Regions from separate parts of the Homo sapiens genome. Here regions 2 and 3 are each linked to region 1. The links are contacts of gene promoters, found by promoter capture Hi-C in blood cells and fetal thymus (Javierre and others, 2016). All regions are on one chromosome and are shown on one strand. Each heading gives the region's core, a stretch centred on a gene start or on the middle of the fragment in contact. The rest is flanking DNA. Distances are from core to core; before and after follow the strand shown. Region 1 holds the start of ARFGEF2 (ARF guanine nucleotide exchange factor 2). Region 2 overlaps SULF2 (sulfatase 2). Region 3 overlaps SULF2 (sulfatase 2).

Evidence for each region. Contacts are between HindIII fragments. The CHiCAGO score rates a contact against its expected background, and 5 or more counts as called.
Region 2: a fragment that was not itself captured here is called in contact with the fragment with the promoter of ARFGEF2 in region 1 in 1 of 17 cell types (naive B cells); the score reaches 7.3 in naive B cells.
Region 3: a contact is called between a fragment that was not itself captured here and the fragment with the promoter of ARFGEF2 in region 1, in 3 of 17 cell types (naive B cells, total B cells and naive CD8 T cells). The highest score is 7.5, in naive B cells.

What each region holds. Positions count from the first base shown.
Region 1 is chr20:48,920,283-48,923,881 of GRCh38, reverse strand. ARFGEF2 (ARF guanine nucleotide exchange factor 2) reads right to left here and starts at 2,171. Exons shown (of 39, transcript NM_006420.3): 1 at 1,872-2,171. The coding sequence starts at 1,992. RefSeq lists an enhancer at 1,461-1,540 and silencers at 1,911-1,960, 2,001-2,100, 2,331-2,410. The HindIII fragment of the contact is 17,186 bases long and covers 328-3,599 here.
Region 2 is chr20:47,710,603-47,714,068 of GRCh38, reverse strand. The region is part of intron 3 of SULF2 (sulfatase 2); the gene reads left to right. Among named protein-coding and RNA genes, the nearest start is that of SULF2, 73 kb to the left of the region's middle. RefSeq lists enhancers at 1,585-1,654, 2,522-2,691, 2,472-2,972, 2,973-3,466. The HindIII fragment of the contact is 5,484 bases long and covers 1-3,466 here.
Region 3 is chr20:47,658,603-47,662,022 of GRCh38, reverse strand. SULF2 (sulfatase 2) reads left to right here. Exons shown (of 21, transcript NM_001387048.1): 18 at 127-250; 19 at 2,293-2,326; 20 at 2,571-2,624. Among named protein-coding and RNA genes, the nearest start is that of SULF2, 130 kb to the left of the region's middle. The HindIII fragment of the contact is 1,011 bases long and covers 803-1,813 here.

The DNA.
Region 1 (3,599 bases), core at 922-3,421:
AAAGATACGATCCGAAAATATCTATTAAATTCTCAGCGTTAATGGCCCTTCATGACCCAGATGAAAATTTTATAAGTAGGTTCCAATAATATGATGCACACTTTGGTGAAAATTTTATGTTAAGAAGTTTTCTGAAGAAAAAATAAAAACTCTTCTGCCAAATAACTATTCTGAAACCTCCACAACAATATCGAGAAGATAGAGTCCAGGCAGATTTCAACGTGGAGTTATAAATACCAGGCTCTTGCCTAACAAACTGCTTTGCAGTGCTTATCCCACATTGCTGATAAAATACCCAACAGCCTTGGTTATTGGAAGAGAAAAGCTTTAAAAATCTACATCTCAGTAAATTCCTTCCACTGATCCTGAATTTCACGGACTAGCAACTGTTTCCAGATTATCTAGACTACCACCTCTGCATCAATAGTTGGCCCCTGAGGGAGTCTCAGGGCCCTCTGAAAATCTGATGAAAGCCAGGGACCTTCTTTCCAGGGAAGTGCAAAGTTCACCAGCCTATTTCTAAATGCCAAAAGAACACTACTCTATACTTTGTAGCAAATGAAAGGAGAAAGGTGATAACAATCTCAAACTATGTGACTAAAAATCAAACTTTCCATTTGCTCATTTTGTTAGGAAAAACAGGCCTTTACAGATTCCAAACCAAAGACGTTGGGGCAGTGAATTAGCTTGAAAACAGCTCTGGTCAAATGCATGGATTCTCCCACCAAGAACTCTCTTCTGAAACTCCATATGGTGGATAGTTCTTGCCTTTCAGTATTCAGCTCAAGTGTCACCCTCTTGGAAAAGATTACTTTCCTGACCACCTGATTACTTTTCCTCTTGGAAAAGATTACTTTCCTGACCATGGAAAGCAGTCCTCAAGCCCTCTTTATCACATCTTGCTGTTTTATTTTCAAAATAGTATTTATCAGTATTCCAAAATACCTCACCTATTTTCTTAATTAATTATTTTGTCTCCTCTATTCGAGTATAAGCTCCATAGGGGTAAGGACCATGTCCGTCTTGTTCCCCACTGAATTCTCAGTACCTGGTATGCAGTGGGCACTTGATAAATATTTGTTAAATGATTAAAACTGAAAGATAGGATAGTGATTTTGCTATCAATTATCAAGCCTTTAACTATTAGTTAGAATTCTCCCTCTTTCCATAATCTGAGGGTCCATTCAATCAGCAAATATTTATCGAGCACCTACTGTGCGCCAGGCACTGTTGCAAGCGCAAGGGATACAGCAATGAATAAGTCAGACAAGTATCTTCGCGCTGAAGACCTTGTATTTTAGTGGACTGCTAGGAATAAGCAGATGTCTTGCTCACTACAATGCCTGGGAGATCCAGAACACCTTCTACAATCCTTCCTTGAGGGAAAGAGCTATGGGAGATCCCCAAACCAAAGGAAAACATTCTCCAACGGGCACTTCCAAAACAAGAATCAGGGGTTTCCCTAAACCAGTTGGACGGCTCTTCCTACATGCTCTGTTCACCTAGGGGAACCCCAATCAGCAGAGCTCAGGTAACGAAAAAACTTGGGGCAAGGGCTACTGTTTCTAGGACTTGGAGGTGGTGAGGGGAGGAACCAGGAAACAGGGCGACAAGGAATCGTGGCAAAAGCCCTGAGCTGGAACCCTGAGGAACAAGCTCTGGTTGTCACCAACTTGCTAGGTGACCTTGGGCCAGTCCCGAGCTGCCCGGGCAACACTTCCTCCGGGGGTATAATGAGGAGGAGGCCGGAAGGGTGGAATTCGGGATCGGGGGGAAGCGGAGGCCAGGAGGCCGGGCCAAGGCCGAGTAGGATAGGGCAACGGCCGACGTGCTGAGGCCAGCGCGGGGCAGGGCGGGAGCGGCTCACCCACCGAGCGCCACCTGGCAGGCCCTGCGCAGCTGGGAGTGCTGGGGCCGCTTCACCTCCTTGTCGGCTAGGATCTTCTCCAGGGCCCGGGACACGAACATGCTCTTGGTCTGGCTCTCCTGCATGGCCCCGGCCCGGCGGGGGCTGACGGCCCCGCGGGCGGGCGGCGTGAGCGAGATGGCGAGCTAGGCTGCGGGCCCGGCGTCCCGGCCGGCACCGGCCGCGTCCGTCCGCGCCGCCCCGTCAGGAAGCGACACCTCGGCCCCACGGCGCCGCCATGTTGGAGCGCGTCACGTGACCACGTGACTGGCGAGGCCGCTACGGCCGCCTAGCGTCCGTCGGCCCCGTGACCCCCAGCGGGGCGGAGCCTAAGGCTGGGGGCGGAGCGGAGTCAGGTGGGCGAGAGACAGAAGGCGAGGGTGGAGGGTGGAAGAAGAGAAGGTGGGGAGGGGAGTGGGCATGGGCGAAGGGTATAGGGGACGCGGGGGCTAAAGAAAGGCGAAAGCGGGGAGAGGTGGTGATGGAGATGAGAGGAGAGAAGCGCAAGGTAACGGGAGGTGAAGGGGAGCACGAGAATGGAGATGACGTGGGTAAGAGAGGAGATGAGGAAAGGAAGGGGAACGAGAGGATTGGCAAAAAAGAACGGTGACAAGGAGAGATGATAAAGGGGCAGGAGGAGAAGGCGAGTAGGAAAGAAAAGAGGTGAGGGAGCGAGGACTGGAAGCTGGTGAATGAATGAGAAGTGATCGGGAGTAAGGGGCGTCAGGAGGAAGGAGGAAGGGCGATGAGAAGGCGGCGGCGGAGGGGAAGGGGGGAGGCCCGGCGCGGCGGCTCACGCCTCTAATCCCAGCGCTTCCGGAGGCCAAGGCGGGAGCATCGCTTGAGCCCAGGAGTTCGAGACCAGCCTGGGCAACATAGGGAGACCCTTTCTCTACAAAATAAAAAGTAAAACAGCCGGGCCTGGTGGCGCTGCTTGTGGTCCCAGCTACTGGGGAGGCTGAGGTGGGAGGATCGCTTGAGCCTCGGAGGTTGAGGCCGCAGTGAGCTGTGATGGCACCACTGCACTCCAGCCTGGGCCACAGAAGGAGACCCTGTCTCAAAAAACAAACAAACAAAAAGGAGGTGAGTTAGTTATGGAGGAGATGAGGTGGTGTGGGAAGAGGTGAGAGGGAGGCACAGAGGTAAAAGAAAAAGGAGAAAGACAGGAGGGAGAGGGGAAGTGAAAAGGAAAGAGAGGTAGAAATGAGAGGAGGGGAAAGAGTAGGAGAAAGGGTGAAGGGAGAGGAGGTAGGAAGGGGAGCTGTCAGGAAGAACAGAAAAGAAAGAAAAAGATGAGAGTAACAAGTTAGGAAAACAGGAAAGAGATGGAAAAAGGAATGGTGTAGGAAGGAGGTGAAGGGGAAGGAGGTGAGGAAGAGTGGAAAGAACATGCTGGGAGAATAGGAAATGGAAGGGGTGGAGGGAGAGGGGAGGTGAAAGGAAGACAGAGAGGGAGAGAGAGAAGGTGTGTTTATGTCTATTCTCCACAAGCAGGGTTTCACCACAGCCACTGGCAAGATACACACATCCATATGACCCTCCTGTCACAGCAGCAGTGACCTTGCAGTTCAGTGAACTTCTGTTTATTGAGTGTCGCAGCTGTGCATAGTATACCAGGAAGCACTGACCTCTCTCTGTAGTTTATCCTGTTATAAACCTGTGAACCCTCACAGTGCAGTGAACTGGACCTGGG
Region 2 (3,466 bases), core at 644-3,143, 1.2 Mb after region 1:
AATTGCTTTGGCAAACACTGTTTATTGTCATTGGCTCGGCTCCGCGCTCCAGCCCATCTCTGCTGATAGATGTGTGTCATGCTCAGCCGACTTCACTGTGCGGCATGAACACTCCTCCCCAAGCTCATTACTGGAGTCTCGGAGGGGCCTTGCCATTTTCCAAAACGGTGTCACATCTGGTTTCTAACAACCATTTTTATTTCTCCAGAGGTCCAAGTTTTCATCCCCCTCCCTGAAAACGGAAAGCAGACTGTATTTTGGGAACTCACAGTTCTTTTTTGTTTCTGTTTTTTTGTTTTTTATTATTTTTTTTTTTTCAGAGACAGAATCTCACTCCGTTGCCCAGGCTGGAGTGCAGTGGCACAATCATGGCTCACTGCAGACCTAAACTCCTGGGCTCAAGTGATCCTCCTACTTTGGCCTCCCAAAGTGCTTGGATTACAGGCATGAGCCACCACGCCTGGCCCTTTTTCAGAGTTCTTTATGCACAATCTCATTTGTTGCTGCCCCCATTTTTATAGAAGAATTCACTGAGGCTCAGACAGGAGCACTCGCTTGCCCAAGGAGTCAGAGTCCTCTGACTCTGCAAACCAAGCTCTTTAAAGCCACACTGCAACCCTGTCGTTAATGGTACATTTGGACAACTTTTTAAACTGTGCACTTTACACAGAGTTTCACAACCTCGGCACTGGTGACACTTTGGGGCTGGATCATTCTTTACGGGGGGAGGAGGGCCATCCCATGCACTGGAAGATGGTCAGCAGCATCCCTGGCCTCTGCCCGATAGATGCCTGTAGCACATTCCCCCACCCCGCCAGGTCATAGCAGTGAAAAATGTCTCCACACACTGCCCAGTGTCCCCTGCAGGGCAAAATCACCCCTGGTTCAGTGTATTCTGCACACAGATGTGCTTCAGGTTGGCAGCCCTGCCTGCTCCGTTGACCCATTTTTTTCAGCATGTAGCACTGTGCTGCAGACACTATAATAGAAATCCCTTCCTTTCTTTTTCTCCCCCCACCCCTGCCCCCCAGACAGGGTCTGGCTCTGTTACCCAGGCTGGAGTGCAGTGGCAGGATCTTGGTCCACTGCAGCCTCCGCCTCCACTTCCTGGGCTCAAGCGATTCTCCCACCCCAGCCTCCCAAGTAGCTGGAACGACAGGCGTGCAGCACCACACCTGGCTAATTTTTTGGTTTTTTGGTAGAGACAGGGCTTCTCCGTGTTGCCCAGGCTGGCCTCAAACTCCTGAGCTCAAGCAATCTGCCCATCTTGGCCTCCCAAAGTGCTGGGATTACAGGCGTGAGCCACCACACCAGGCCTAGAATCCCTTTCAGTAAGACATGCAGTTGCCACCTCTCCTGCACTCCTGGGCGAGGGGTGTGACGCTTAACATTAGAGGGCGCTGCCCCACCTTGCACAGCTGTGTACCTCAATCAGGTGCACCTACCCAGCCCTCCTGTCGGCCACTGCTCACCGTGTGCACACTCTGGGCCAGGTACTGCGCTGGGGCTACAGTGCAGCACGGCTCCTGCCTTACGGACCCCACACCCTAGTTGGGGAAATGAGGATAAACAAGAAAACAAATGCATCTATAGGATAATTTCAGAGAGTGCAGAGTGCTGTAGAGGAAATAAACAGCCCGGTGACTATAGAGGGATGGGTGACCAGGGACAACTTCTCATCTGACCTGAGGTGCCACGGTGAGGAGGAGGCAGGCGTCCCAGGCAGAAGGAAGAGCAGGTGCCAATGCTCGGTGGGGTAGAGAGCTTGGCTCCTAGGGAGCGTGAGACCTAGAGAAGTTGAAACAGAGTGAGCTCAGCAGTGCGTCCCTGAAGGGAGACGGCCTGATGGCTCTTGGACTCAGAAGGGCCCTCTGGCCATTTGGGGAAGTCTGGGCTCTGGGAAGGCTGCGGAGGCAGAAGTCCAGTTGGAAGTTGGCTGTGAGAAGGAAACAGGTGAAGAAGCAAGATGCATTTCTGTCTTTTTTGGGATTTTATATCCTGTGTATATGTGTATGTTGTGTATTCGTGTATGTGTGTATATGTGCTTTTACTGTATTTTCCTGCATCGTGTATATGTACATATGTACCTGTATATTCATGCATTGTGTATATGTGAATGTTGTATATCTATGCATGTGCGTATGTGTGCCATATATTAATGCATATGTGTATTTTTATATGTCATGTATTCACTCGTGTGTATATGTGTGTTGTATATTCATGTATGTATATGTAGTGTATTTGTGCTTGTGTATATGTATTCATGCATGTGTGTATATGTATGTGTTGTATATTTATGCAGGTGCGTAGATGTGTTTGTGTGCTGGTTCCAAAATATGAGGACAAATTGCCAAATCAAAGTGAATAAATATTTAATGAAATGGTGTTGCATGATTCAGCGAGTCAGCTCTGGAACATTTGGACTCTTAGAGAGCTGTTTGTCGATTACCTTTAATGTAGTGTGTGGGTGGAAATGGTGTGGGATGAACATGTACCGAAAGTTGCTGATGTCCTTAAAGAAGCCCTGTTGGTATTTCCAGCCAGATGGCCCGTCGTGGGGGAGAGAAAGTCCTCCGAAAGCAGCGGGTGCTTTCTGTCCTGCTGGCTGCCTCTTGGGAGGCCCCTAGGACAGATCAGGTCCTGTTTCACCCTTCGCATGCCTGTCAGTTCATCCACGTGCATAGCAGTGGGTGGGGGTGCACTGTCGTTTCATTGCCAACAACCACAGGGGACAAAGTCCTTTGTGGTCCCACAGCTAGGAGGTGGCAGATCCAGGATTCAAACCCAGACAGTCTGACTGCAGAGACGCTTTGGGCACTCTGCCACATTACCACCTGTGTTACTGGGAAAAGGGAGAACTGATGCTGGGAGGAACAGCGTGTTCCTACGCCGGCCCGGCATGGCGGGGACATGTCTGCAGCAGGGAGAGGTGGCCGAGGTTCCCAGTGGTTTCTGGTTGCAGGAGCCCTCTGTCTCCCCCATTGTCCGTGGCTTGCTTAGTATCCCCAGTGATGCCGTGTGTGCCCCTGTGCCAGGTTTTTCACCAGCTAATCTCAGTCCCTGGTCGCCACGAGACACAGCTTTCACAGACCACAAATGCAATTATTACAAGGCAATTTCAGTTAGATTTGGGGCTGGGAGAGAAAACAGAAGGGTCTCCTCCTCCCATCAGGCTCCGAATCGTTCCCCAGGAGCACTTAACTCAGACAAATGGGGAAGCAGCCGCGTGGAGCCTCCACCGTAGAGCTGCCTGCAGGGGAAGTGGCCGACCTGCTGGGCCACGAAGCAGGGTGCAGGAAGGATATGGGGAGCTAGTGATCCTCTCCAAGGGGGCAGGGGGACTCCATTAAACCAGATGTTAACAGCAAGAAGTTGGCTATAACAGGGGACGGGCCCATTGGTGGATAATGAAAATATAACCCTTAGTAGGCACTTGCTATGTGCCAGTTCCAAGCAATGTACAGTC
Region 3 (3,420 bases), core at 59-2,558, 1.3 Mb after region 1:
AACAGGTCACCAGCCCCTAGCACCTTCCACCCGCCACCTGCCTGAAATATGTCCCCTGGTTGGTAGAAGGGCAGGGCGAGAGTCCCTGTACTTACCTTGTTGACAGACTACCTTTTTTGCAACCAGCTGATGAATGCAGTGAACACACTGGACAGGGATGTCCTCAACCAGCTACACGTACAGCTCATGGAGCTGAGGAGCTGCAAGGGTTACAAGCAGTGTAACCCCCGGACTCGAAACATGGACCTGGGTGAGTAGGCACCCCAACGTGGGGCCCTTGGACAGCAGGGTAACCAAAGGAAGGGACTCAGGAGGTGGTGTCTACCCCAAGAATGAGCCTGAAATCACCAGGCTTTGGGAGGTGATACAGTTCCAGACGAGTCATGGGAGCCCCTGTCCATAGCAGGCAGATGACCTTTAACAAGCTGTGATTCCTGAGAGAGGAACACCTGCACCAACTGCCCAGGAAACACACGGAATTCCGTCTCATTTCATTGTCCTCCCTTTTGTCCACTCATGCATTCAACAAACACTTCCTGAGAACTTACACCTGAAACCATGTTGACTAAAGATGACCCCATCCTCGCTGACTTGTGTGGAGCCAGTGTTGTCCTAAGAAGAGCAGTCCACAGCAGGAGGCCTCTTGCTTGTATGGAAAGGGTAAAACTGGATGGTAGAATCCAGTGTGACTGGGGAAGGGCACTGCTAAATAAAACCAGGGTCAGACCTCTGAACTGAGTCCTGAAAAGTAGGATGCAATCGACCACTGAGAAAACGTGGAGGGCTGGCGCTCCAGGAAGCTTAAAGTGTGAGGAGCAGAAAGCAGCTCAGGGGGTGCAGCCAACACAACTGAGGCCAGTGGAGAGTGGCGGGAGGGCATCGGGCCACCCTGTGTGGGGCTTCCTAGGCCACGGTAGAGTTTAGATTTCATTTGTGGTGTATCAGGAAGCCAATGGAGGGTTTTAACCTGGGCACCGACATTTGCTAGGTGGAGAATGGGACTTTATGGGAGAAAACAGCGAAGATGGCCCAGTTATCCAGGGAGAAATGGTGGTGGCTTGGACTAGAGGTGGGAGCAGTAAAGATGATGGATTTCAGATTCAGGTGGTGAAGCCCCCAGACAACATGGTGATGGGAGGTGCGGGATTAGGAGTCCCAGGTAAATCCTGAGTTTTGTTTGGGACAGGACAAAATCTGCAGTTTTAAGTTTAGAATGCCAACCAGATAGATATTTTAAGATGAAAAAAGCTAAACAGGCATGGTTGCTCATGCCTATGATTCCAGGGCTTTGGAAGGCTGAGGTGGGAGGAGACTTGAGCCCAGGAGTTCAAGGTTACAGTGAGCTATGATAGCACCACTGCACTCCAGCCTGGGAGACAGAGCTGTCGCCCCATCTCTAAAAATAAAAAAAATATATTAAAAAAAGAAAACAAAGCTAAAAGAAAAATGAAGTTCACTTACTAGTGAGAGAGAGTGGCCTAAAAAAAACCTTTGGTATTTAAGGTCCCTTGGGGAAGGGACTGTGTCTAGGAGGATGCCTAGAGTTCATGTCAGGAAAATGGCTACACAGCTTAGGAGGAATTCAGACGCTACCGTCGGCTCTAGTTATGAAGAGGGAAGAGCTAATGTGTTTACACAAGATGTTGCACTAATACTTCTGGTCAGGAGCCTGATATGATCAGAATTTTCACTAGTAGCTTCCTAATCTCTGCCACTCAAGTGCTGCTACTCTTGTGATCAAAGTGCAATGACATATTAGTCACTGTGTGCCAGGCTCTGTGCTGAGCATTTTACATGTGTTAGCTGATAAGCTTTGAGGTGAATCTTATCCTCATTTTATGGAGGAGTAAGGTGAACAAGGTGGGCTGACCCCGGAGCCCACGCACTTGATCCTGCCACATCCTCGGGAAAACTTCCCCAGAGCCCAAAGGGGAACTCCCTCCTGCACTTGGTCAGGGCTCTTGGCTTTCTGTCCTCTGGAGCACAGATGTTCATGCCTGCATCTACCTCCCTCACCATAACTAAGGTCAGCGCTGAATGAAGCCATCAGGGTCCTGAAACTGATCATGGTGACACTGGATTTTAGGCAATCTACAAGGCTATCTAGGAGACTTAGGGCAGGTTCCCCTCATAATTCAGTCTACCCCTCATAATTCAGTCTACTCTGAGTAGGGAACACTATCAGCATCATGGGATTGTGACAAAAAAGCATAAGATGGTTTTCTGGTGTGTTGGGGTTGTTTTGCCTAAACTATCTGCTCCTGTTTTGTTTTTCATTTCTCCTTCATTTAGGACTTAAAGATGGAGGAAGCTATGAGCAATACAGGTATTTCGTTTTATTATTAAAGCCTAAACAAAGTTCTCCTATCTTGGCCCATCCTTCAGTCTCATCTCTGTGAGTCTGCACCTGTTATCTTGAGAAACTGCCCTTCCCTCTGGTCTGCCCGAGACCAGGATCACCCACCAAAGATAGGTGTCACCTAGGAGACCTTCTTTGTATAGTTCTTTGGGGACTTTTTCTTTCTTGGTGATGGTTAACATTCATTCTCCTTTGACACTTGAAAACTTAGGCAGTTTCAGCGTCGAAAGTGGCCAGAAATGAAGAGACCTTCTTCCAAATCACTGTGAGTTGAGGAACCAGCTTACAAATAGAAATCTGGTTCTGACCGCTTCATTTTGCCAATGCTATTCTATTTGCATGCCATTTCTTACATACCACCCTTTGTTTGTTCTCATGATGAGGGTGGGGGGGAAGTACTAATGCACATCTTTCCCTAAGAAAACACTTGAATCCATTTCATGTTTTAGATTAATGCCTTGTCCAGTACACTGCTGTTCTCGCTATAATCTGTGCTTGGTAAACTTGAGCTATTACTTAGAGGTTGAGAAGCATTTAAATATTACAAATTGCTAGGCATCTTGAAGGCTGTGGCTACAAAAGTGCTAACTGATATACAACATCAGTAGTAGGATGGCCTCATTAAATGGTTTCCAAAAAGCCCATGCTACAAACTCTCACTCCAGTGCCATTGGAGGCTGACAGGGACTAAGAGACTGGCAACCTGTAAAGTTCACCTCTATTCTAAAGGGAGCAGGCCAGTTTGCTCCCTGCAGGAATGGGCTGAGGTTCGCCAGATTTTCTCATTCGTCTACCAAATCCAAAAATGCAAGTATGTGTGAGAATTCTTTATCATTATCATCTAATTTGACATTAAGTTAACCATGTGGGCAAATTATCGCCCTTGGTGAACTGCCACTTGCAACCTCTGGTCTACTCATTTCTTCCTTTATATGCATATAAACCTGTGTGGCTTTAATAGGACATTAGTAACAGGTCACCTAAGCCTTTCTTCGGTGCTTCTAGAATTAAGGTACAGAATCTTTACATATCACAATCTCCTTAGCCACTATTCTGTCCAG